5 separate regions of the Homo sapiens genome follow, and all the other regions are linked to region 1. Evidence: promoter capture Hi-C in 16 types of primary human blood cells and fetal thymus (Javierre and others, 2016). All regions are on one chromosome and are shown on one strand. The core of a region is centred on a gene start or on the middle of the fragment in contact, and the rest is flanking DNA. Distances in the headings are between cores, read along the strand shown.

What was found. The method cuts DNA at HindIII sites, captures the fragments that hold promoters and counts their contacts. A CHiCAGO score of 5 or more calls a contact.
Region 2: a contact is called between the fragment with the promoter of FCRL5 here and the fragment with the promoter of FCRL2 in region 1, in 1 of 17 cell types (total B cells). The highest score is 5.6, in total B cells.
Region 3: a contact is called between a fragment that was not itself captured here and the fragment with the promoter of FCRL2 in region 1, in 1 of 17 cell types (naive B cells). The highest score is 5.4, in naive B cells.
Region 4: a contact is called between a fragment that was not itself captured here and the fragment with the promoter of FCRL2 in region 1, in 1 of 17 cell types (total B cells). The highest score is 7.1, in total B cells.
Region 5: a fragment that was not itself captured here is called in contact with the fragment with the promoter of FCRL2 in region 1 in 1 of 17 cell types (total B cells); the score reaches 6.1 in total B cells.

What each region holds. Positions count from the first base shown.
Region 1 is chr1:157,774,788-157,778,927 of GRCh38, forward strand. FCRL2 (Fc receptor like 2) reads right to left here and starts at 2,345. Exons shown (of 12, transcript NM_030764.4): 1 at 2,256-2,345; 2 at 988-1,008. The coding sequence starts at 2,286. The HindIII fragment of the contact is 5,936 bases long and covers 516-4,140 here.
Region 2 is chr1:157,550,626-157,554,765 of GRCh38, forward strand. It overlaps FCRL5 (Fc receptor like 5), which reads right to left and starts at 1,890. Exons shown (of 17, transcript NM_031281.3): 1 at 1,707-1,890. The coding sequence starts at 1,737. The HindIII fragment of the contact is 25,493 bases long and covers 1-4,140 here.
Region 3 is chr1:157,948,946-157,953,085 of GRCh38, forward strand. LOC105371458 (a long non-coding RNA gene) reads left to right here. Exons shown (of 4, transcript NR_135760.1): 4 at 1-126. Among named protein-coding and RNA genes, the nearest start is that of KIRREL1, 43 kb to the right of the region's middle. The HindIII fragment of the contact is 1,263 bases long and covers 1,828-3,090 here.
Region 4 is chr1:157,599,234-157,603,373 of GRCh38, forward strand. No RefSeq gene overlaps it. Among named protein-coding and RNA genes, the nearest start is that of FCRL4, 3.2 kb to the left of the region's middle. The HindIII fragment of the contact is 3,474 bases long and covers 1-3,466 here.
Region 5 is chr1:157,616,345-157,620,484 of GRCh38, forward strand. No RefSeq gene overlaps it. Among named protein-coding and RNA genes, the nearest start is that of FCRL4, 20 kb to the left of the region's middle. The HindIII fragment of the contact is 3,753 bases long and covers 1-3,565 here.

The DNA of each region.
Region 1 (4,140 bases), core at 1,095-3,594:
CTCCCTGGACACTCTTGTTCCATTCAAGGTGACAGCAGGATCTGCTTTTCCCACACTGTTCCTTAGAGCCCAAAGAGCCCCTTCCACTTGGTAGCCAGCATTCAATGGGCAAGGGAACAAGTCTCCCTTTCTTTAGATTTTGTCTTGGCTCATGTGAAGATTCTGTATATAGAATAAAATATTTTTCCCATTGACTTCCTTCACTGAGCACAGATTTAACTCAGAAAGAGTGAAATAAAATTAGCTTTATTTCACTCTTTATGATTAGAACAGTAATACATGCATTTTTAAAAAATCAAAACTAAATACTAAATCTAGAGCACGGGTTGGCAAATTATGGCCTGTGAGCTGGCCAACACTGTTTTGGTAAATAAAATGTTATTGGAACACAGCCATCCTCATTCGTTTACATATGGTCTATGGTTGTTTTCCTGCTACCACAGCAATGGCATTGAGTAGTTACGGCACACACCTGAAAAGCTTAGCCTATTTACTCTCTTGCCTTTTACAGGAAAAGCTTGCTGATTCCTGAGCTAGAGCTAGAGAAGCAATGAGGACACATGTTTATTCTGACCCTGCAGAAGTTTGTAGTTCTGACACATTCCTCTATAAATAGCTGTTTTCAGAGCTGTAAAAACATTCAGCATTCAGCCAGACAATAAAGAGGCATTACAGTCCTATGGGCAGGAAAACAATTCTCTCCAAATTGTTCTTTTCTTCAATCTGCATGTTATTGCCCTTCTTAAAGCCAGGCTTTTAAGGAAGAGGCAAGCATGTGGGGTCTTGAGAAGGCTAGGTGGTACCTGGTCACCCAGACATGCAAGTGGTGTTGGAAACAGGCTGCGTGACCTCAGAACATGTCAGCCTAGAGGGCAGTAATATTAGGACATCTTCACAGGCTTTCCAGAGCCACCTCTATAGAATCCTGGGGTAGTGGGGTGACTGATATGCCAGAGACCAAGAACAACAAAGACAAGGAGGACTCACCTGCCTGTTCAGTGACTGCATCTGTGAGGAGATCAAAAGCCAGAGATTAGCACACAGCATTTGCCCTCATAATTTATAAATTTATATTACTCTGGTAAATTGCTCAAAAACTTCTTTCCATTTTCCCTTTCTTTTCTATTTCCCTAATCTCTTATTACTAACAATTCAATCTCCCTCGAGCACACATCTAACTGTCATTCATTGTAGTCAAAAGGCAAGTTGCAAACCCAATGCTTGACTAAAGGGATTGTCGAGAATACCCATGTTGGATATTTAGTGACTCTCCTTGATTTCATTTTCCTTCCACCATCCCCACCACTCTATCTCACACTCTGACTTTTCAAGTGGTAGATAGACATGACAACACGATCACAAAGGGCTCATCAGGAAACATACATTGTGAGAGTTCCAAGAAATCAACAAATCAGTCTCTTTCCTATGGCCATATTTCACGTTAGAGCCCTTTGTATTCCAATAACAAATATTTATTTAGTGCCTACACAGCATAGAGAAAGGGATCTTATTTACTCTCTCACCCAGGCTGGAGTACAATGGTGCGATCTTGGCTCACCACAACCTCCACCTCCCGGGTTCAAGCAATTCTCCTGCCTCAGCTTCCCGAGTAGCTGGAATTACAGGTGCCCACCACCACGCCTGGCTAATTTTTGTATTTTTAGTAGAGATGAGGTTTCACCATGTTGGCCGGGGTGGTCTCGAACTCTGACCTCAAGTGATCCACCAGCCTTGGACTCCCAAAGTGCTAGGATTACAGGTATGAGCCACTGCACTCACCCAGGAATCTTATTTTCTAGCAGCAGCTGTCATCTCCCTCATTGTCCACGATTAAACAGAGGAATATTAGCAAAGGGTCTCAATGCATCTGCTGAACCCAAATCTTATAGATAACAATTGAATAATCGGTGTTCATGGAGGAGAAGGGCATTGCTAAATGCTAATATTATGAACATTTTACTATGAGAACATTATATTACTCAATGAGATCTAAGATATCAAAATAGCAATTCATGACCAGCAAATGGAAAAGTGGTCCACCTTGAACATTAAGCATTGTGCTTAATGCTTAATGGATGTGCTGCAAATTCACTGTCCTCAGCCTACTTCTTTGCATCTGCCTTTGAAGCCCAAGCTGCAGGCAGGACCTGAGCATCCCCACCAGTCCCTGGGCTCCAATAAAACCTCCAACCTTTTGGGAGCAGTAGACCTCATTCAGCTGCCACCTCACTTCTCAGTCAAATTATTGAACTCACCAAAGATGACCAGCAATGACCACAGCAGCATGAGGACCTAATCCAGCTATTTGAAAAGAGATGTACTCTTGGTCACCAACTGGAGACTCTGAGCAGGCGATGAAATGTGGTTTTCAGAATAGGTTTTGTATAATTAGCAAAAAAGGAAGTAGAATAGTGCCACTATGTTTAACCATTATCTTTGTCCTGGAAGGGCTAAAACAATTATAGCTGATCCTCTCAATGCCAGAGAAATTTTGTAACTTGACCCTCATTATGATACCTAGCATTTACATATGGGTTGCAATGAGTCAGACACAGTTCTAAGTGCCTCATGCTTACAGAGTTATTTATTACCTTCAGCAAGTTTCTGAATTGGCACTATCCCCTTTCACATGAATAAGGAAATTGAGGCACTAGTAAAGGTAAGTGTCTTAGTCCATTGGGGCTGCTATAAAGAATACCTTAGACTGAGAAATTTATAAACAACATAAATTTATCACTCATAGTTCAAGAGGCTGGGAAGTTTAAGATCAAGGCACCAGTAGATTCAGTGTCTGATGAGGGCCTGTTTCTCATAGATGGTGTCCTCTATGTGTCTTCACATGATGGAAGGAGCAAACAAGCTCCCTCAAGCCTCTTTTACAAGGAGACTAATCCTTTTCATAAGAGTTCCACACTCATGACCCCTAAAAGGTCATGTAATAAAAGGTGGGTACCTTTTATTACTATTGCATTGAGGATTAAGTATCAACATAAGAATTTTGCCAGGACACAAACATTCAGATGATAGCAGCCAGTAAAATGACCAAGATCAGCTTAATCAATTTCTAGTAGTAACAGATCTGGGATTCAAACCCAGGCAGCCCAGTGTCACAGTCTGGCTCTTAAACATTGTGCCCTATTATCTTGATATATTGCTTCTCAAGGTTCATAAAATAATAAGGCCATTGTTTCAATAGCTCATATTTCTTAAGTAAAATTTTTCGTAGTCATTCGATGACTTTCTAGAATGAGATTTTACTAAACTTCAAAACACTTGCACTATATTGCTGAAAACATTGCCATCTTTCTAATCTGTAATCACAACATTGCCTATTTCTAATCTGCATTGCTTTTTGTACCCCAGGCTGATCCTAATACAGTTATCTCACACAAAGCAAAGCGCGTGTTATGTGAACACCTATTATCATGCTCACTTTGATTAGATGTAGTCCCAGTAGATGTTGTCTCATCAGTGAACCTTATGCAGGATGAAACTCTAAACCAAAAAATCACAGGTGCTTATAAATGAGGGACTGACTGAAAATATTCATAGACTCAATGTTACCTGTTCAGGTACTTAACATTTACCTGAATACTTAACATTGAATTTTTAACAATTGGATACTTAACATTTTATTCTCACTATTATCATAGTTTTACTTTGAGAAAGGCTAATATTTATATGTGATGGTCATTAAAGCCTTGCTTATAATAATGTAAAAAGAAAATACTAAAAATATATCACAAGGAGAGATGTGTGTTAAAAATAAGTTATGTGTCAAATGCTGTGGAAAACCAAACAGCCATTAAAATAATTCTGTGGAATAATATTTAATAGCAAGATAAGATGTCTAGGATATATGATTAAGAAAAAAGTGGGCTGGGTGCGGTGGCTCACGCCTGTAATCTCAGCACTTTGGGAGGCTGAGGCGGGCGGATCACGAGGTCAGGAGATCAAGACCATCCTGGCTAACACGGTGAAACCCCATCTCAACTAAAAATACAAAAAATTAGCCGGGCGTGGTGGCAGGTGCCTGTAGTCCCAGCTGTTTGGGAGGCTGAGGCAGGAGAATGGTACAAACCCGGGAGGCAGAGCTTGCAGTGAGCCGAGATCGTGCCACTGCACTCCAGCTTGGGTGAC
Region 2 (4,140 bases), core at 640-3,139, 220 kb before region 1:
GGACTTTCCTTATGTTCACCATATATCCTCCAGGACCTATAACGGTGAATGGCATATAAAAGATATTCCTTTAATGTTCACTAAATATATTTGTGTTGTATAATGAATTAATTAAAGAACTAGGTTAATAATATAGGAATAGAAGGATAGAGATTTGAGAAATGGGTAATGAAGAGAGAGAGGACACAAAACTGGCAGGTTTATCAATTGAGTAGGTATTCTGCATATGGGTTGATTTATTTATTCAACAGATTTTTGGAATGCCAATCATACTCCAGAGCAAGGCAATAGAAATCCAGGAGTGTGTGAGAGACAAATCATCCCTGTCCACATGAGGCTATTGGAGACTTATCCAAACTTAAGTGTTTTACTGAGAACAACAAATTATTCACCATTCACCTGAATATTTTGGCTTCCTTCATCTTTGCATTGTTTTAAATGAAGCTAATATTTTTGTGAGTGGTTTCTATATGGTCTGCATTTACGTAGGTTATTTCATATAACCATGTCAATAATCCTGTGAGGTAAGCACTAGGATTAACTGCATTTTGTAGACCAGGAATCTGGTAGCCAGTAGGTGGCAAGATGAAGTTTGAACCTAGATCCTGTTTGACCCCAGAGCCCATGTTATAAACTTTGCCCTCTCATGCTCAGGACCTGGCCATTACCCACATTGTGTGGGGCCACACTGAGATGTATTCCTACTTCAGGAATTATAGTCCATGCACCTTCCAACTGTGAGGTCCTCTTTTCTTATATCACGCCTGCTCCATTTCTGCTCCTCTAGCTCCTACTCACCTCTAAGTTTCATGAAGTCTTTACTAGCTATTTTGAATACAGTTTATTATCTGCCTACAGCATTCATTGGTAACTTTGCCTGGACAATTATTTAACTGGGAGCTTGTTGCATAGCTGCTTGAAAGTACATTGGCCTTGCTGGGAGCCCTTCTATGTCATGACTTTCCAGAACATAGACGTAGTGTCTCCTATGGACTCTAATTGCTCAGCACCTGTGCATAGATATTACTAAACACATTTGCTGAACAAATAAATAAACATATTTAATTATAATATTTAACCTTTAGTAAAAATCAACCAGTTCGCACATATGAGTTGATAGAGACTTACGTACACCCACAGGGACAAAGAGAAAGTCATATGCTTTAGATTTATCCTTGCTTTGTCCACCTACGCCTCTGCGACCTCCTCCACCCCATGTTCTTAATCAGCCAATTGCTGCAGTGGTTTGCAATTATGTACAAGAGAAAGACCTGTCTTTCCCGTTAGAAACCTTGCCTCTTATGCTGGGGACCAGGATCTGGCCTTGTCATACAAGGAATAAATACATCTCCTCTGCAGAGAGGAGAGTGGGCTCTTCTATGAGTAAGACAATATGAACAAACAAACATGAAACATTCTCTGGACTTTAAGAAGTACTTTTTAAAGAAAAAAATAAATGAAATTTTAATTGTTGTGGTTATTGTGGTTTCCTACTCTGTAAGATTGAAAATTCCTTCCAGCTGTGGCCATTTTCTTCAGCCTCAAGAGAAAGCCCTGAGCTACAGAGTAAAGTTCAAAAATACAGTCTCCTAATGTAGGAGAGAGTCTCTCAGCAGGGGCTGAGCCCCAAGAAAGGACCAGGCCTGCGGTGGAGAGAGAAGCTGTCCCGATCCCACCCAGGGCCCATGGTGAGCCCTTTTACTCACCCAGGACCAGTAATATCACCCACAGCAGCATGAAGACCTGGACCACCAAGGGCTGAGATCAAAAGAGAAGTTTCCTCAATTCCAAAACAGGTTTGGACTTGATCTTACAGTCAGGACACTGCACACCAGCTCCAAGGAGCACATCTGAGAAGCTGTGCTCTCAAAAAGAGCAGAATGCATTAGTGAATTGAAAAAAGGAAGTGGGAGTACCCGTCTTCAGCTGCTAATCACAGTTTCCTACCCGATGATCAAAGAAAAAAAAAAGTTAAGGTTTTAAAAAATCAAATACCCTTGACCCTACATTTTTGCTATTGGGAAATTACCCTGAAGGAAGTATCTGAAGAGAGTACTATAAGAACGTTTATTGTAGCATTCATTATTGCCTAAACACTGGAAACAAAACAAAAAACCATGATATGGGGACTGTTTAAGAATATTCTGATTCATCCGTATGGTGACAAGCAATCATTAAAGAATAAGGTAAATCTGAACATGCCAAGAAGGGAAGACCACCTTGTTTGATGTGAAGAGAATAAAAGTGAGATATAGATTGGTTTTGTAGTATTATCCCATTGGGTAAATATAAAAAATAGGATATATGTGTACATCAACTCTTTTAAGTATACTTTCTTCTTTTCCTGGAAAGTACACACAAAAATATTGATTATGTTTGAGGAGCAATAGGTGGGAAGAACACAATTTATTTTATGTATTTCTGTACCGTTTGATTTTTTAAAAAATTACCAGGTGAATGTATAGCTCTTATGATTTTCTAAAAGTCAAGTTTCCATCCTGGTATACTGGTCAACAGAGGTTCCTAAGACATTAGCTGCCACGAGGAGTGCCAGTTTCTTTCTTTCAAATATTTTCTCACCCTTTCTCTCTGGGCCCATACCTTGGTCTTCCTAAGGGGGCATTTAATTTTATATCTACAAATGCACATCACCTTAGGTATATTATGTCACATCTGACCCACTGCACCCTGAGGCAAGAAAACCATACAGGGGTTACAGGGGTGAATAGAGATTAAGAGGAGAACTTCAAAGGGAACACAGAATCTTTACCTACTTTTGGTGCTAAAACAAATAGTGCTGCTATGAACATTCTTGTATACATTTATTGGGGCATATGCGCACATAATTCTGTTGGGTATATATCTGGGAGTGGAAGTCCTGGCTCATAAGGTATGCATATATTCAGTTTAGGAAGTATTACCAAATTATTTTCCAAAGTGGTTGTGCCAATTCCCACCACACCCACCAACCAATGTATGAGAGTTATCATTGTTCTAAAATTCTTGCTGATATTGGTATTGTCATCTAGTAAAATCTGGCCGTTCTGCTAGAATTATCTCAATGTGGTTTTAATTTGTATGTCTCTGGTGAATTTGAGAATGAGCATTTTTTCATAGTCTAATTGGTGATGTAGATATCCTTTTTATGTGCAATCTCTGTTCAAATATTTCCTCATTTTTCTCTTAACTTTCAGTCTTTCTTTTCCTGTTTTGTAGTTATTTTAAACCCTGAATATAAACCTTTTGTTGGATATATGTATTGCAAATGTCTTCCTTCAATCTGTGGCTTGCTTCTTTGCTCATTGATAGTGCCTTTTGATGAACAACCATTCTAACTTTGACATAGTCCAGTTTATCAGTCTTCTCCTTTGTGGTTAGAGATTTTTGCATCCCTTCTAAGAAAGTTAGTCTACTCCAAGATCATAAAGATACTCTCCCAGGTTATCTTCTAGAAACTTTATTTTTTACCATTTATTTTATATTTATAAGAGCATTGCAATTGATTTTTGTGTACAGTTTGAGTGTTTATATTCACTTTTAACTTAAATACAGATAATTTATCCTGCCCTATTTATTGAAAGTTGATTTTTTCCACAGTACAGTGCAATTTCACCTTTGTTATAAAACAAAAAGCCATGTAGGTCTATTTTTGGAAACTCCTTTCTTGTCCATTAGTCTATTTTGTCTATCCTCATGCCAATACCACACTCTTCTAATTATTGTGGCTTTATAATAACTCTTATTAACTGATAGTTTAAGTCATAAAATGCTGTTCTTCTTCAAAATTGTTATGGCTATTTTTGGCTTTTTGAATTTTTCTATACATTTAAAAATCACCTTGTCAATTCCTGTCCCCTCTCTCCCCAAAAGCCTAGTAGATTTTTAATAACTGGGATTGCATTGGATTTATAAGTTAATTTGTATAAATTAGAAAAGATTTAGTCTCCCAATCCATAAACATACAATATCCCCTCATTTATTTAGGTTAACTTGACATTCTTTCAGTAATTTTCTATAGCTTTGCCTCTGGAAAGTATATCTTTTGGTAGGTTTATCCTTAGGTTATTGATATGTTTTTTATGATATTGTAAGTGACATCATTAGATTTTTTTCTAAATGTATATTGGTATATAGAAATAT
Region 3 (4,140 bases), core at 1,209-3,708, 170 kb after region 1:
CCCTTTAGCCCTGTGTCCAGTTGCCTGTCTACTCTCCAAGCTGAGATTACCCCTCTGCCCTCTTCCTGTTCCTCCCCACTCTAAGATCCATGTTCAAAGTTCCCATATAAATTGTGTCATCTCATTATCCATGCAGGGCCTTTGTTTTCCTGACAACTGAGTTTCTGAGATTCTCTTTCCCACCCCCTTTTCTTCCCAGCTTCTATTCCAGTCTCACTTACTGTCTCAGTGAACATCTTTTGTTTTTCCTGCTGTCAAGGCATCCACTCAGCCTGAGATGGCTCCCAGCTCTCATCCACCCCAGTGGAGCTGCAGCCAGTGTGCAGTAATGATAATGGTTCCTTTAGGGCTAAACTTCCAGAACTGGACCCAAGGAGGAAGGAAGATGTGAGGAAGGCACCAAGTGAGTGAGGACTGAAGGGGTCTCCTAATAACTCTGGCCCTGCTGAGATTCTTAGGACAAGAATAAGGACACGTGATATTGATGTCACTCATCAGAGTTCTGTTGAATTTTTTTTTTTTTTTTTGAGACGGAGTTTCGCTCTGTCACCCAGGCTGGAGTGCAGTGGCATGATCTTGGCTCACTGCATCCTCCACCTCCTGGGTTTAAGCAATTCTCTGCCTTAGCCTCCCCAGCAGCTGTGATTACAGGCAGCTGCCACCACACCAGGCTAATTTTTTTTTAATTTTATTTTAAGTAGAGACGGTGTTTCACCATCTTGGCCAGGCTGATCTTGAACTCTTGACCTCTTGATCCACCTGCCTCGGCCTCCCAAAGTGGTGGGATTACAGGCATGAGCCACTGCACCTGTCCTAATAATTTTTAAAATGCTATAAAAAAGGAATTAATGGTGAAAGGAGAGAAGAATTGGAAAATATAGCAGCTGGGTGCAGTGGCTTACGCCTGTAATCCCAGCACTTTGGGAGGCCAAGGCAGGTAGATTACCTGAGGTCAGGCATTCAAGACCAGACTGACCGACATGGTGACACCCCTTCTCTACTAAATACAAAAAATTAGCTGGGTGTGGTGGTGCATGCCTGTAATCCCAGTGTAATCCCAGCTACTTGGGAGGCTGAGGCAGGAGAATCACTTGAATCTAGGAGGCGGAGGTTGCAGTAAGCCAAGATCGCACCATTGCACTCCAGCCTGGGCAACAAGAGCAAAAATCCATCAAAAAAAGAAAGAGAAGGGGAGGGGAGAGGAGGGGAAACAGAGGGAGGGAGGTAGGGAGGGAGGGAAGGAGGGAAGGAAGGAAGGAAGGAAGGGTCTCCCCAGCAACCGTGGTCCAGATACAGCAGGACTAGTCAATGACTTGTAGACAGGAGACCATGTTTCCATACCTAGACAGGTCCAGCCCCGATCATCCATGTTAGAGGACTGAGGGAAGGAAAAGGGAAGAGCTCCATGAGGCAGAAGCCAAGAAAGAGGTCAGTGGAAGGAGACCTGATGTGTTTTCTAAATCTCTCTACTGATTTCACCCCATTCTTCTCCATCCCCAACCAGGGTGGAGTAGAGAGAGACCCAGATGCCTGTCTGTTCTGCTCCCTATGCCCATCATGACGCCCCATGCCGAACTTCCACTCTAATGGAAGTCAGTGGGACCGACCAGAGGCTACATCCTGGACCACTCTGCTCTGGGACCTTTCAAGATCCAAGACTCATTCTTTTCATACTTTATTTCCAAAGAGGGAACAGATGAAGTTCTCTCAACTTCCCTTTCCTATCTGATCCCTAATATTGTTCACAAATGCTAGTTGTGCTTATCACCATTCTTAGTTTTTAATATTATTTCTCCATCACTAGACTATAGGCAAACCAAGGACAGAAGCTTCCTCTTGTCCTCTCCTATATCACCTGTAACTAGGACAAGATCTGCCTCATTGTAGCTATTCAATAATTGTGGATGGAGATTTGAAATGTTTGCTCAAAAATAAGTTGACCCTTAGGCTGGGCTCTGTGCTGTTCTGGGGGCCCATTCAAGCACACATTCAAAATCACTTGAAGCTGAAGGTCACATCCCCTGGAGACAATCTGCTCAGGGTTGCCCATTCAGCTTTGCCAAAGAGCAGTTGCCGGGCTCTCCTGTGAATGGACCTGCTCAGTTTTCATCCAGCCACAGGAGCTAAGTTGCCTTGTGCATCATCTGCTTAGGACGGGTAACACTCCTGGTCCCTCCTGGAGAGTGTGGAAGGGGCCTTGTGGCAGCCATAATGGTGCACCAGTCAGATCTCCCTTCAAGGAAGACCCTGCTTCAGGAGTGTACTTAGCTATCAGCCTCCAGCTACATCACCTTCAGGATCTGCTGCAATGTTTGAACCAAAGCTAAAGTCTCCCCAGGCAGCCTCGGCCACTGAGCACGGCGGGACAGCAGGGGTACTTTCTGCTCCACATGGCCATTCTCCTAACATAGACTCCTCTACTGGCAAACTCCCTGGAGCTTCCCACTGGGCTGGATGAGACTTCCTCAGAGCTGCATCAGGGTCAAAGTCTCTTCTTTCCCAACCCTCTTGCCTCCCCGTCTCATTTTACAGGCATCAGACCCATATCACTATCTGAAGACTTTCCCTGACTCCTTTTGTTCCCTCTCTCCCATCTTTCAAAATCTCTTGACCTTACAATCTCTTGACCGTCTTTAGTAACTGCTTCCCAGAGGACCTGAACTGATACAAGCCCTCTTTCCATTGTGGCTTTAATGCTGTTGCACTCACACCATTACTGACATGGTTTGTGTGCTGAACCTGTGAGCCACATAGAACCATCTTCTGCTTAAGGATAATGACAGAGAGAAATCACCCTGTCAGCTGAGGTGCTATTTATGTTTCTTCCTAACAGACCATCCAGTGAGATGGAATACAATAGAAAAAAAAGTGAGATAGAACAGTCTAGCAACTCTGGATCTAGGAACCACCACATGTGCTTGCCCCCACCCTTACATGGCTCAAAACTCATTTCTCTTTGTAGCTCTGAGAGCCTTCCTTCTGAAACCAAATGATAGCTTTATGGAAGGTTGATTAAACCTATTGAATGTCATAGCTAAACTTATGAATTAAAATAAAATCTGGCTAGACACTCCTAGCCTTGTCTCTTAAAGCTTCACATGAAATATCTATAAAGTTCCAGGAAAAGACAAACATAATAATGACACTAAAAATGAGGACTTTTAAAAATCAACTATTGTCAGAGGCAAAAGGAATTTCCATGAACTTTAAGGTCATTAGAATTGAACTGAAAAAAGAAAAAAAGAACAGAAGAGAGGGACACCTTGGGTATGTTGGAAAAAACAGAGCAGGTGGCTTATCTGAAAGTAAATAGAAAAGGTCACTTTCCCATCTCCATATCACACTCCCCTCACCCAGTTACAAAATGCTGAATCTATACCAGAGACCTGGACATCCACTTCTACTGTGTGGGAGCTGCCTTCTGAGAAGTGACAGTGAGGCCCACCCACCACCATCATCAATCTTTTCACCAAAAGAACTCTCTTGAAGGCTGACTTCAGATTTCTCTACACTTAGTTTTCAATGGAAAGGATCTAGAGTACTGTGGAAAAAGAGTTATCCCCCAAGAATGTGTGCCCAACCAAATTGCTCCCTTTATGTGGGAAAGAAGGAAAAAAGCAAACATCAGAAATGAAAGGGTTCAGAACATACACCTGTCATGCATCGGCTAATCTTGAAACAAATCACTTGAACATATTCTCCAGTCAATAAGAGAGAAAGCAAAGTTTAAAAGTAGAGAATGGAGATGTCATGGAATGAAAGACTGATGGATCTTCCCTTACTAAAATTAGACTCAAAACCAAGAGAAACAATGGAACAATGTGCTATCAAGTAGCTTTGCCAGCCTGAGGTCAAAGTCCGGCCCTGTATAGTTCCCAAGATTGTCTTCTGCTTTCCTGTAGATTCTATTTTGATTGTGCTTCCCCCTCCCAACGAAAAAAAAAAAAAAAAACAGTTTACAGATAATCTCTTGCCAATTTGATAAAAGACTACATAAAACACTAACTGGGTCTGTTCCAACTTTGATTAGCATGGCCAAACAATTTGTATGGTTGGGATGCCGAGCCAAGATAGTTATTAAACTAAAAATCTTTGTTTTCACCCCCTTTCTTCCATTTCTCAAAGCAGAAGTGCACAAAA
Region 4 (4,140 bases), core at 480-2,979, 180 kb before region 1:
TTCTGGTGGAGAAGACAGCAAGTCAACAGGAAATTACATAGAAGTGAATTGTATGTAATTTCTGAGAGTCCACTAAGAGGGAAATCTGACCCAGTTCTGGGGATGCATAAGAGGCTTCCCTGAGGAAGTAACATCCAAGCTGAAAGAATATCATTCTAGGACTGAGAGATGAGCATGCACTAAGATGGAAGGCAGTTATCGTGACCATCACCATCACATCAAGATATCTGTGAATAGATAATAGACATAGGATGGATTAAGAGTGGTCTGTATTTTTCTAATATAATGTTTTTCTATATATCTGTAATAATTTATTTTCTAACTAGGGTTTGTATTGAACATCAACTATATTTTAGACAATGTCCATGGCCTTAGAAGAATAAAAAGGTGAATAAAGTGCATCTCTCTTAAAGACTTTAAAAAAGTCAATGTGGTAAGGGCCAGAGTAGACATAGACACAAGGAACCATAAAGACATAGAGCTGTCAAGGCGGCACATGGGTCCTTTGTCTCCTTGCCGTGTGACCGTGCTGTCATCTTTCAGCTGCCTTCATTTGTCCCAGGAGGAGCAAGGGTATAAAATGGCAGTCAAGAACCTGATCTGCAGAATCCCACACATCTGGATGAAATCTTGACTTCACCTCTTGCTAGTTGGGTGACTCTGGTCAAGTACTTAGCCTCTTTCACACTGGTAAAAAGGAGATAAAAATAATGTCCAGCTGAAGTGGATGTTGTTATTGATGTTTGTATGAATACATTAATGACATAGAACTCTCAGCTTAGTCCCTATGCTGAGAACTATTCTGTAATACTAGAAGTAACAAGTATAATGAACTAAAAAGCACTTTATAATTGACATAATATCCTACCAACATTTTTGTATTCCTTATAACACTGGAAAATAGTATTTAGCATGAGTTTAGAACTCCAATATTTATTGACTGACTAAGGATTGAGGGAAGTTGAAATCATATTGCCTGTTTTCTTGTTTCTACCATAAGTTTTGCTGAATGAATAGATTTCAATTAGCAAAATAAAATTTCACATTTATGATGTTATACAAGATGTCCAAACACAAAAATCATATTTATTTACAACTACTGTGTAAATGTTTAAGTTTACGTCAGTCAAGTACTATTTTTGTTGTGGTATTTAAGTCACTGACAGAAATATTTTAGTTATTGGTGCCAGAAGTGTGGTTAGTACTTTGAAACATCAGCCAGGAAGTACATATACCATGATTTATTAAGCAATTGCTTGACTAACCAGGAACTTTTAGATTTTATATTAACAAAGGACAAAAATAATTGTTTTCAATGAGAATGTAAGAAACTGAAATTTTTAAACTTTTCTAATTTTTTTTTGAAAAACATTTAAACCTTTACAGTTTAAAAAATAAATTTTCATTTTGGGGTAATTCTAGATTTATATAAAATAGTAAGGATAATACAAAGAGTTCCCATATAGGAAGCCCTCACCTGTTTCAATTTCCCCTACCGTTATCATTTCACATCATGGGGGTGCATTTATCAAAACTAAGAAACCAAGATTGCTACATTACTATTAATTACAGGCTTTATCCAGCTTTTTTCAGTTTTTCCATTGATACCTTTTTCCTCTTCTAGTATCCCTTCTAAGATACTACATTACATTTAGTTATCTTTGCTCCGTCTCTACATTACTATTAATTACAGGCTTTATCCAGCTTTTTTCAGTTTTTCCATTGATACCTTTTTCCTCTTCTAGTATCCCTTCTAAGATACTACATTACATTTAGTTATCTTTGCTCCGTCTCTACATTACTATTAATTACAGGCTTTATCCAGCTTGTTTCAGTTTTCCATTGACACCTTTTTCCTCTTCTAGTATCCCCTCTAAGATACTACATTACATTTAGCTATCTTTGCTCACAGACGTCTCTTCTCCATCTGTGAGTTTCTCAGTGTTTCCTTGTTTTTCATGACCTTGACAGTTTTGAGGAGTACTGGCTAGGTAGTTTGCGGCGTCTTTCAATCTGGGTTTGTCTGACGTTTTGGTCATAATTAAACTGGGGTTATGAGTTTTCACAAAGAATACTACAGCGGTAGAGTGTCCTTCTCATCACATTGGGGGTATGGAATCTCAACATGACTTATCACTGGTAATGTAAATTGTGATCACTTGGTTAAGGTAGTGTTTGCCAGGTTTCTTCGATGTAAAATTACTGTTTGTCTTTTTCTATATTCTTTCGTTTGGGAGCAAGTCCAGCCCACAGTCAGGGTGAGAGGTGAGGTAGGGGGATTTGTCTCCTTGTTCTTATTTACTTATTCATGTATTCATCCATTCAATCATTTATTTATATCACTATAGATTTGTATATTTACTTTAAACTTTGGTAACAATATAATGCTTTATATATTTTGTTGCTCAAATTGATCCAGCTTTGGTGATTGGGAGCTCTTTCAGGTCAGCTTCTTCTTTGTGCCTTTGAGAAACTCTCATCATTTTCCTTGTTGGAACATTTCTGTACTGTCTGGCACTACGAGATGCTCCTGGCTCATCTTACATTTTCCTGCCCCAACTCTAGAATCAGCCACTTCTTCAAGGAGCCCCAATTCCTTTCAGTAGAGACTGATATTTAGAAACCAAGATCTGAGTGCTGAGTATGGTCTTTACTACTACGGGAGAATCATACATTTTTAACTATGTGACAGGGAGTCTGTGGTCTTGTCAGTGCTTTATGGGTGGGAAAAATACTGGAAAGATAAATTTGTTGTTCTTGCTATTAAAAGACTCTTCTCCCAAATCAGTGGCTGTATACGTAATGATTTCTATAGCCATTTGTTAGTAATGGAGGAACAGCCGCTTGGAGTAATCAACTTTGAACTTCAAAGAAAAGGCAGTGAAGAAGCTCAATTACATTTATTTGTAGGCTGGTGCCATCTAGAAGCCGCATTTTATTTTCCATGACTACAGATAATAATATTTCTAGCCTTCAGTGGTAAAATATAATCTCCTTTTGTTTTAGAGACGTTTCCGAGATGATTTCTTGTTCTAAGTCGAGACTCTTCTATCTTCATGAACATACAGATCTTTTTGCTCAAAAACTTGTCCAAAGTGAGAACAGAATCGCAGGTTGTTAGTGCCCTCTATTCCAGATTCACAGATCCACAGTTATGTAGTAGAGGGTGTGAAATGGACACCAGATTTGAACTCTAAGGCCTGGCTATGGTTTTGCTTCATCACTTACAAGCTATGTAGCTGAAGGCAAATCCATTTTGTTACTTGGAGACGTTAACAAGAAAACTTTCATTTCCCCAATATTTTTATTTCAAAAAATTTTAAACCTTTCAAAAAAATGGCAAGAATAGTACAATAAATACTTACCTGCTCTTCACTGAGAGTTATCAGTTATTAACATTTAGCTATATTTGGTCAGTTTTTCCTGAGGGTTGGCCAAGGCAGTGCTGCTTGAGGGATGTGTCAGAAGCTTGGATGTGCGGGCTGGCTCGTTCCAATGTATTGTACTATGGGATGGAGCTGCGAGCAGGAATAAAAGTAGGAAGCTGTAAGCTTGAAACAGGAGACCAGAGCCTGCTTTCCTTGTCATACCTTGTTCTAGTATAAAATTCCCATTATCTTAAAATGTTATATTTGAACCCAGACTTCTAGGTCATTATGAAGGTATATTTGTCAAAGTAGGAGAATAAAACACATCTTATTAGCTTATTAGATTAATTTATAACTTTTTTTTTTTTGAGACAGAGTCTAGCTCTGTCGCCCAGGCTGGAGCTCAGTGGCGCAACCTCCGCTCACTGTAAGCTCCGCCTCCCGGGTTCCCGCCATTCTCCTGCCTCAGCCTCCCGAGTAGTGGGGACTACAGGCGCCCGCCACTACGTCCAGCTAATTTTTTATATTTTTAGTAGAGACGGGGTTTCACCTGTGTTAGCCAGGATGATCTCGATCTCCTGACCTCGTGATCCGCCCGCCTCGGCCTCCCAAAGTGCTGGAATTACAGGCCTAAGCCACTGCGCCCGGCTGATTTATAACTTTTAAATCCTCAGATCTATACTAGGAAGACCTCAACTTGCACTGTTGCCGGGGCCTCTGCAAAAGTTAGGGAGGGACAGAACACTTACCTAGAAGGGGAAGGGAGATACTT
Region 5 (4,140 bases), core at 439-2,938, 160 kb before region 1:
GCAGGTCTGGGTCTAGGGACAGAGGTGAGGAAGAAGATGCCACAGAATGTGGAGAAGCTGAGATGGTGTGTGATGGCTTAGGGAGCTCTGCTACAATGTCCTCACCAATAGGTGCTAGAAACAGCCAAAGTTTAATTATTTCTTTCCTCTCTGTTAAGATTGTGACAGTAAAATGAAACCTTTGCATGTGAGGTGCTTAGCAATGGATCTGACACATTCTAGGTCCTTGATCAATTGCCCCAGGGGGTCAGGAGAGGAAGGAGCCAAGGATAATACCCAGGTTCCTGGATGGGGCCATTTGCTGAGAATGAGAACACAGAAATAGGCTAGAAGGTAAAGATAAAGCAGTGAACACACTGAGCGTGAGGTGCCAGTGGAGACGTCTAGTAGAGAGCTGAATGCAGGGTCTGATGCTGAGCAGAGGGTAGGGGGTGGAGATACAGACGTGGGCATTAGCAGCATGGGAATGAACATTGAAAGTAGGGAAGTAGATGTCCTAGTGAGAACACAAAATATGAGATGAAAATCGGCTCATGACAAGACCCAGTGCTTGAGGGGAGCATGGAGGTGCAGAAAGAGGAAGCAGCAAAGGAGCCAGGATCCAGGAGAGAGTGATATCAGGGAAACCAAGGAAGAGAGTTCTCAGAAAGAGAAAGAGAAAGAGGTCAACAGTGCCAAATGCTGGGAGGTTCCTGGTCACCTGGTGGAGTTCTCAGGGGTACTTGCTGGTGGAGGAAGTCCGAGGATTCAGTGTCTTGGAGCAAGTGTAGAAGTCTAGCTGTGACATGGAAGATGAAGAAACAGGAGATAGTTGCAGGGTGAGGTTAAGGGGATGCTGAGAGGGGAGAGTCCTGAGAATGTTTAAGGGCTGTAGCAAAGGAGTGAGCAGGGTCCATGGAACACACCAGAGAAAGGGGAGCTGCATCAGAGATCAGTGTTCCTGAAACAGTGGGAGGAAAAGGGACTTGAACCACAGGAGAAGGCACTCACTTTAGATAACAGGAGCACATTGCTTTGTGTGGGGACAGGAGAGAGTTAGGACAGATGAATATAAAGGCGGGTCAGTGGGAAGTGTGCTGGTAGGAACTTGAAGACATTACTTTCTACTGTTCATTTTTCTCTGAAAAATGGGAGGTTCTGTCATTTGTCATGAGTGATAAGGTAGGTTGGTGTCTTAGTCTGCTCAGGCTGCCATGACAGAACACCATAGACTGAATAGGTTAAACAACAGAAATTTATTTTTTCACAATACTGGGGGTTGGACATCCAAGATCAGGGAGCCAGCATGGTTGGGTTCTGGTGAGGTCTCTCTGGCTTGCAGATGGCTGCCTTCTTACTGTGTGCTCATATGGTGGCTAGAGAGTGATGGGGGTGGGCTGGGGGTGGGTGGGGGGGAGAGAGAGAGAGAGAGAGAGAGATTCGTCTTATTAGAGACCACTAATCCCATCACAAAGACTCCACCCTCATGATCTCATCTAATCTAATTACTTCCCAAAGGTCTGATCTCCAAACACCATCACACTGGGCTTTAGGATCCAATATATGAATTTTGGGAGGGGAGGATAATGCATTTCAGTCAGTCCATAGCAGATGGAAGTTTGAGAGAATGTGAGAGGCAGTCAGCAGAAAGATGAAAATGTGGGCTCTGGATTCAAACTACCTGGATTTAAATCCTGGTTCTGATACTTCCTAGTTGTGAGGACTTGAGAAATGACTTAGTCTTTCTATGTCTCTTCCTTCATAATTTGTAAATGGGGATAGTGACATCTATCTCACAGAGTGCTTATGAGGATTAGATGAGTTAAAACATGCAGAATGATTAGAAGAGTCATGGCGCATAGGAAGCACTCAATATGTGATAGCTATTATTAGTTTATATTATCTTTAGCTGTCATGCACTTAACTGATTGTTGAATGGTGTTAACATTTTGTTCTGGTTAGGTATCGTGAATTTGTGATAGGTCATCCAGAAGACTGGTGTTCTGTTAGGCAGTGTGAGTGTTGTGCAGAGGTTGGATCAATACAAGGTTCATGATTTGCTAAGTAGGTAAGACCTGGTGGTAGTGAAACAGAGGTATTTAGGAGCCTGGCTGGAATGTTTGATGTGCTTATCTGTGAGGTTTTAGCAGGGTAGTAAAAGAGGTGTGCTAGATATAGTGAGCAGGTACTCAATGGAGTTCCTCTACCCTGGAGGCAGTAAAGCGAACCCCACATTTACCAGGCTCTGCGGCAGCTGGGGCTCTGAATGTGATTTAAACTTCATTGTCAGAGGTGGGATTGGAGGTTGGAAGTGAGGCAGAAGTCACCCTTTTGCTTTATCTGCCCTTCTGTGTTAAGGACAGCGATGGTGTCACTGGATTTTCTGCCATAGCAGAGGCCCACATGTGTCTCTCTATATCTGTGGGTGTCGGGAGAAAAGGTGTTGGTCTTTGATTTTTCTTGAATCAATGTGCATTTAGAAGGTACTGCATGGCTCTGCAGCCAGCAGTGCTGGTGGTGACTTCCTGACCCTGAATCAGAGCTGGTTATTTGCAGCCAAGTATCCTAGTTGATGCAGTCATGGGTGCTGATGTCATGCAGGGTGAGTACAGGAATTTGGCTAGAGAAAATGTCTGAGTTTGTTTTTGGTGAGAAGTGACCAGGGGGTTGGTAGATAGATAACTGCAATAAGGAGGTGTAGAGTGTGATATAGTCAGACATATCCTCAAAGGACTGGGTATCAAACATTTTGTGGAGAAACTGTGACTGGATACAACAGAGAAGAGTAAAGAAGGCTTGACTACCTCTCTATCCTAAAATATGTGAGTGTGATAAAATGATTAACAATCTTTTGAGAAGTTCAACGGAGAGAGGGAGAGACAGTCTCCAGTTAAGAATAACCCTTTTTACATTTATTCAAAAAAATTTAGTTTTGTGCATTGTATCTTTTCTTCTTCAGTTATGTTTTATATTTGGTTGTAATATATCATGTATTTTAATATGTTGACCTTAAATTCAGGACAGTTAAATGAATTCTGTTATGTAAATATTATATATTATATTATTAATGTTTATATTAAGCTGATATTAATACAATTCAGGTACATATAAATTAATATGTCAATTGTAATCCCCAGGAAAACCACTTAGAAAATAACTACAAAATATACAGTATAAGAAAGGAACTAAAATGACACCATACAAAATAATTGTTTAATACGAAAAAGGTGACAATGTAGGAATAAAGAATTATAATAATTATAAACATACATATACGCAACTAACAAAAGAGCCTTAAAAGATGAGGCAAAAACTGACAGAATCAAAAGTATGAATAGATAATTCAACAATAGCAATTTAAGACTTTAATAAAACAATTTCAATAATGGCTAGAAAATCTATTCAGAAAATAGAAGACAATAGAATACCCTAAACCAGTTAGACCTAACGGAAGTTTGTTGAACACTTCATCTTTCTTCTTTTGAACTGCTTGTTCGCTATTGAGCTAATCACACATTCTTTTCAACTGTACATGGAATGTTCTTTCAAAAAGACAACATATTAGGCCATAAAACTTTATTTCATAAGCTTCAATAAACTTAAAAAGTGTGAAATCATACAAAGTATGTTCTCCAAAGCCAATGGAATGAAATTAGAAATCAGTAACAACAAGACATTGGGAAAAATCACACATCTATGAAAATTTAAAAATGAGCTCTTCAACAACTAAAGCGTCAAAGAGGAAATAACAATGGAATTAGAAAATACTTTGAGATGAAAAAGTCTGGAAACACAACATACCAAAACTTACAGGATATATTGAAAGCAGTATGCAGAGGGCAGCTTATAGCTATTAATGCCTATGTTAAACAAAAGGAAAGATCTTAGATCAATATCTTAACCTTCCAACTTAAGAATCTAGAAAAAGAATAGCAAACCAAACCCAAAGCAAGCAGAAGGAAGAAAATATAAAGATTAAATATTCCATTGTATGCATATACTACAATTTGTTAATTCATTCATTAGATGATGAACATTTCCGTTATTTTCACCTTTATTATGAATAATGTCATGTTTTTATATAAATATGTTTTCAATTTTGTTGGAAGTTTACCAGGGAGTGGAATTGCTCAGTCATGTGTGAGCTATATGATTAACATT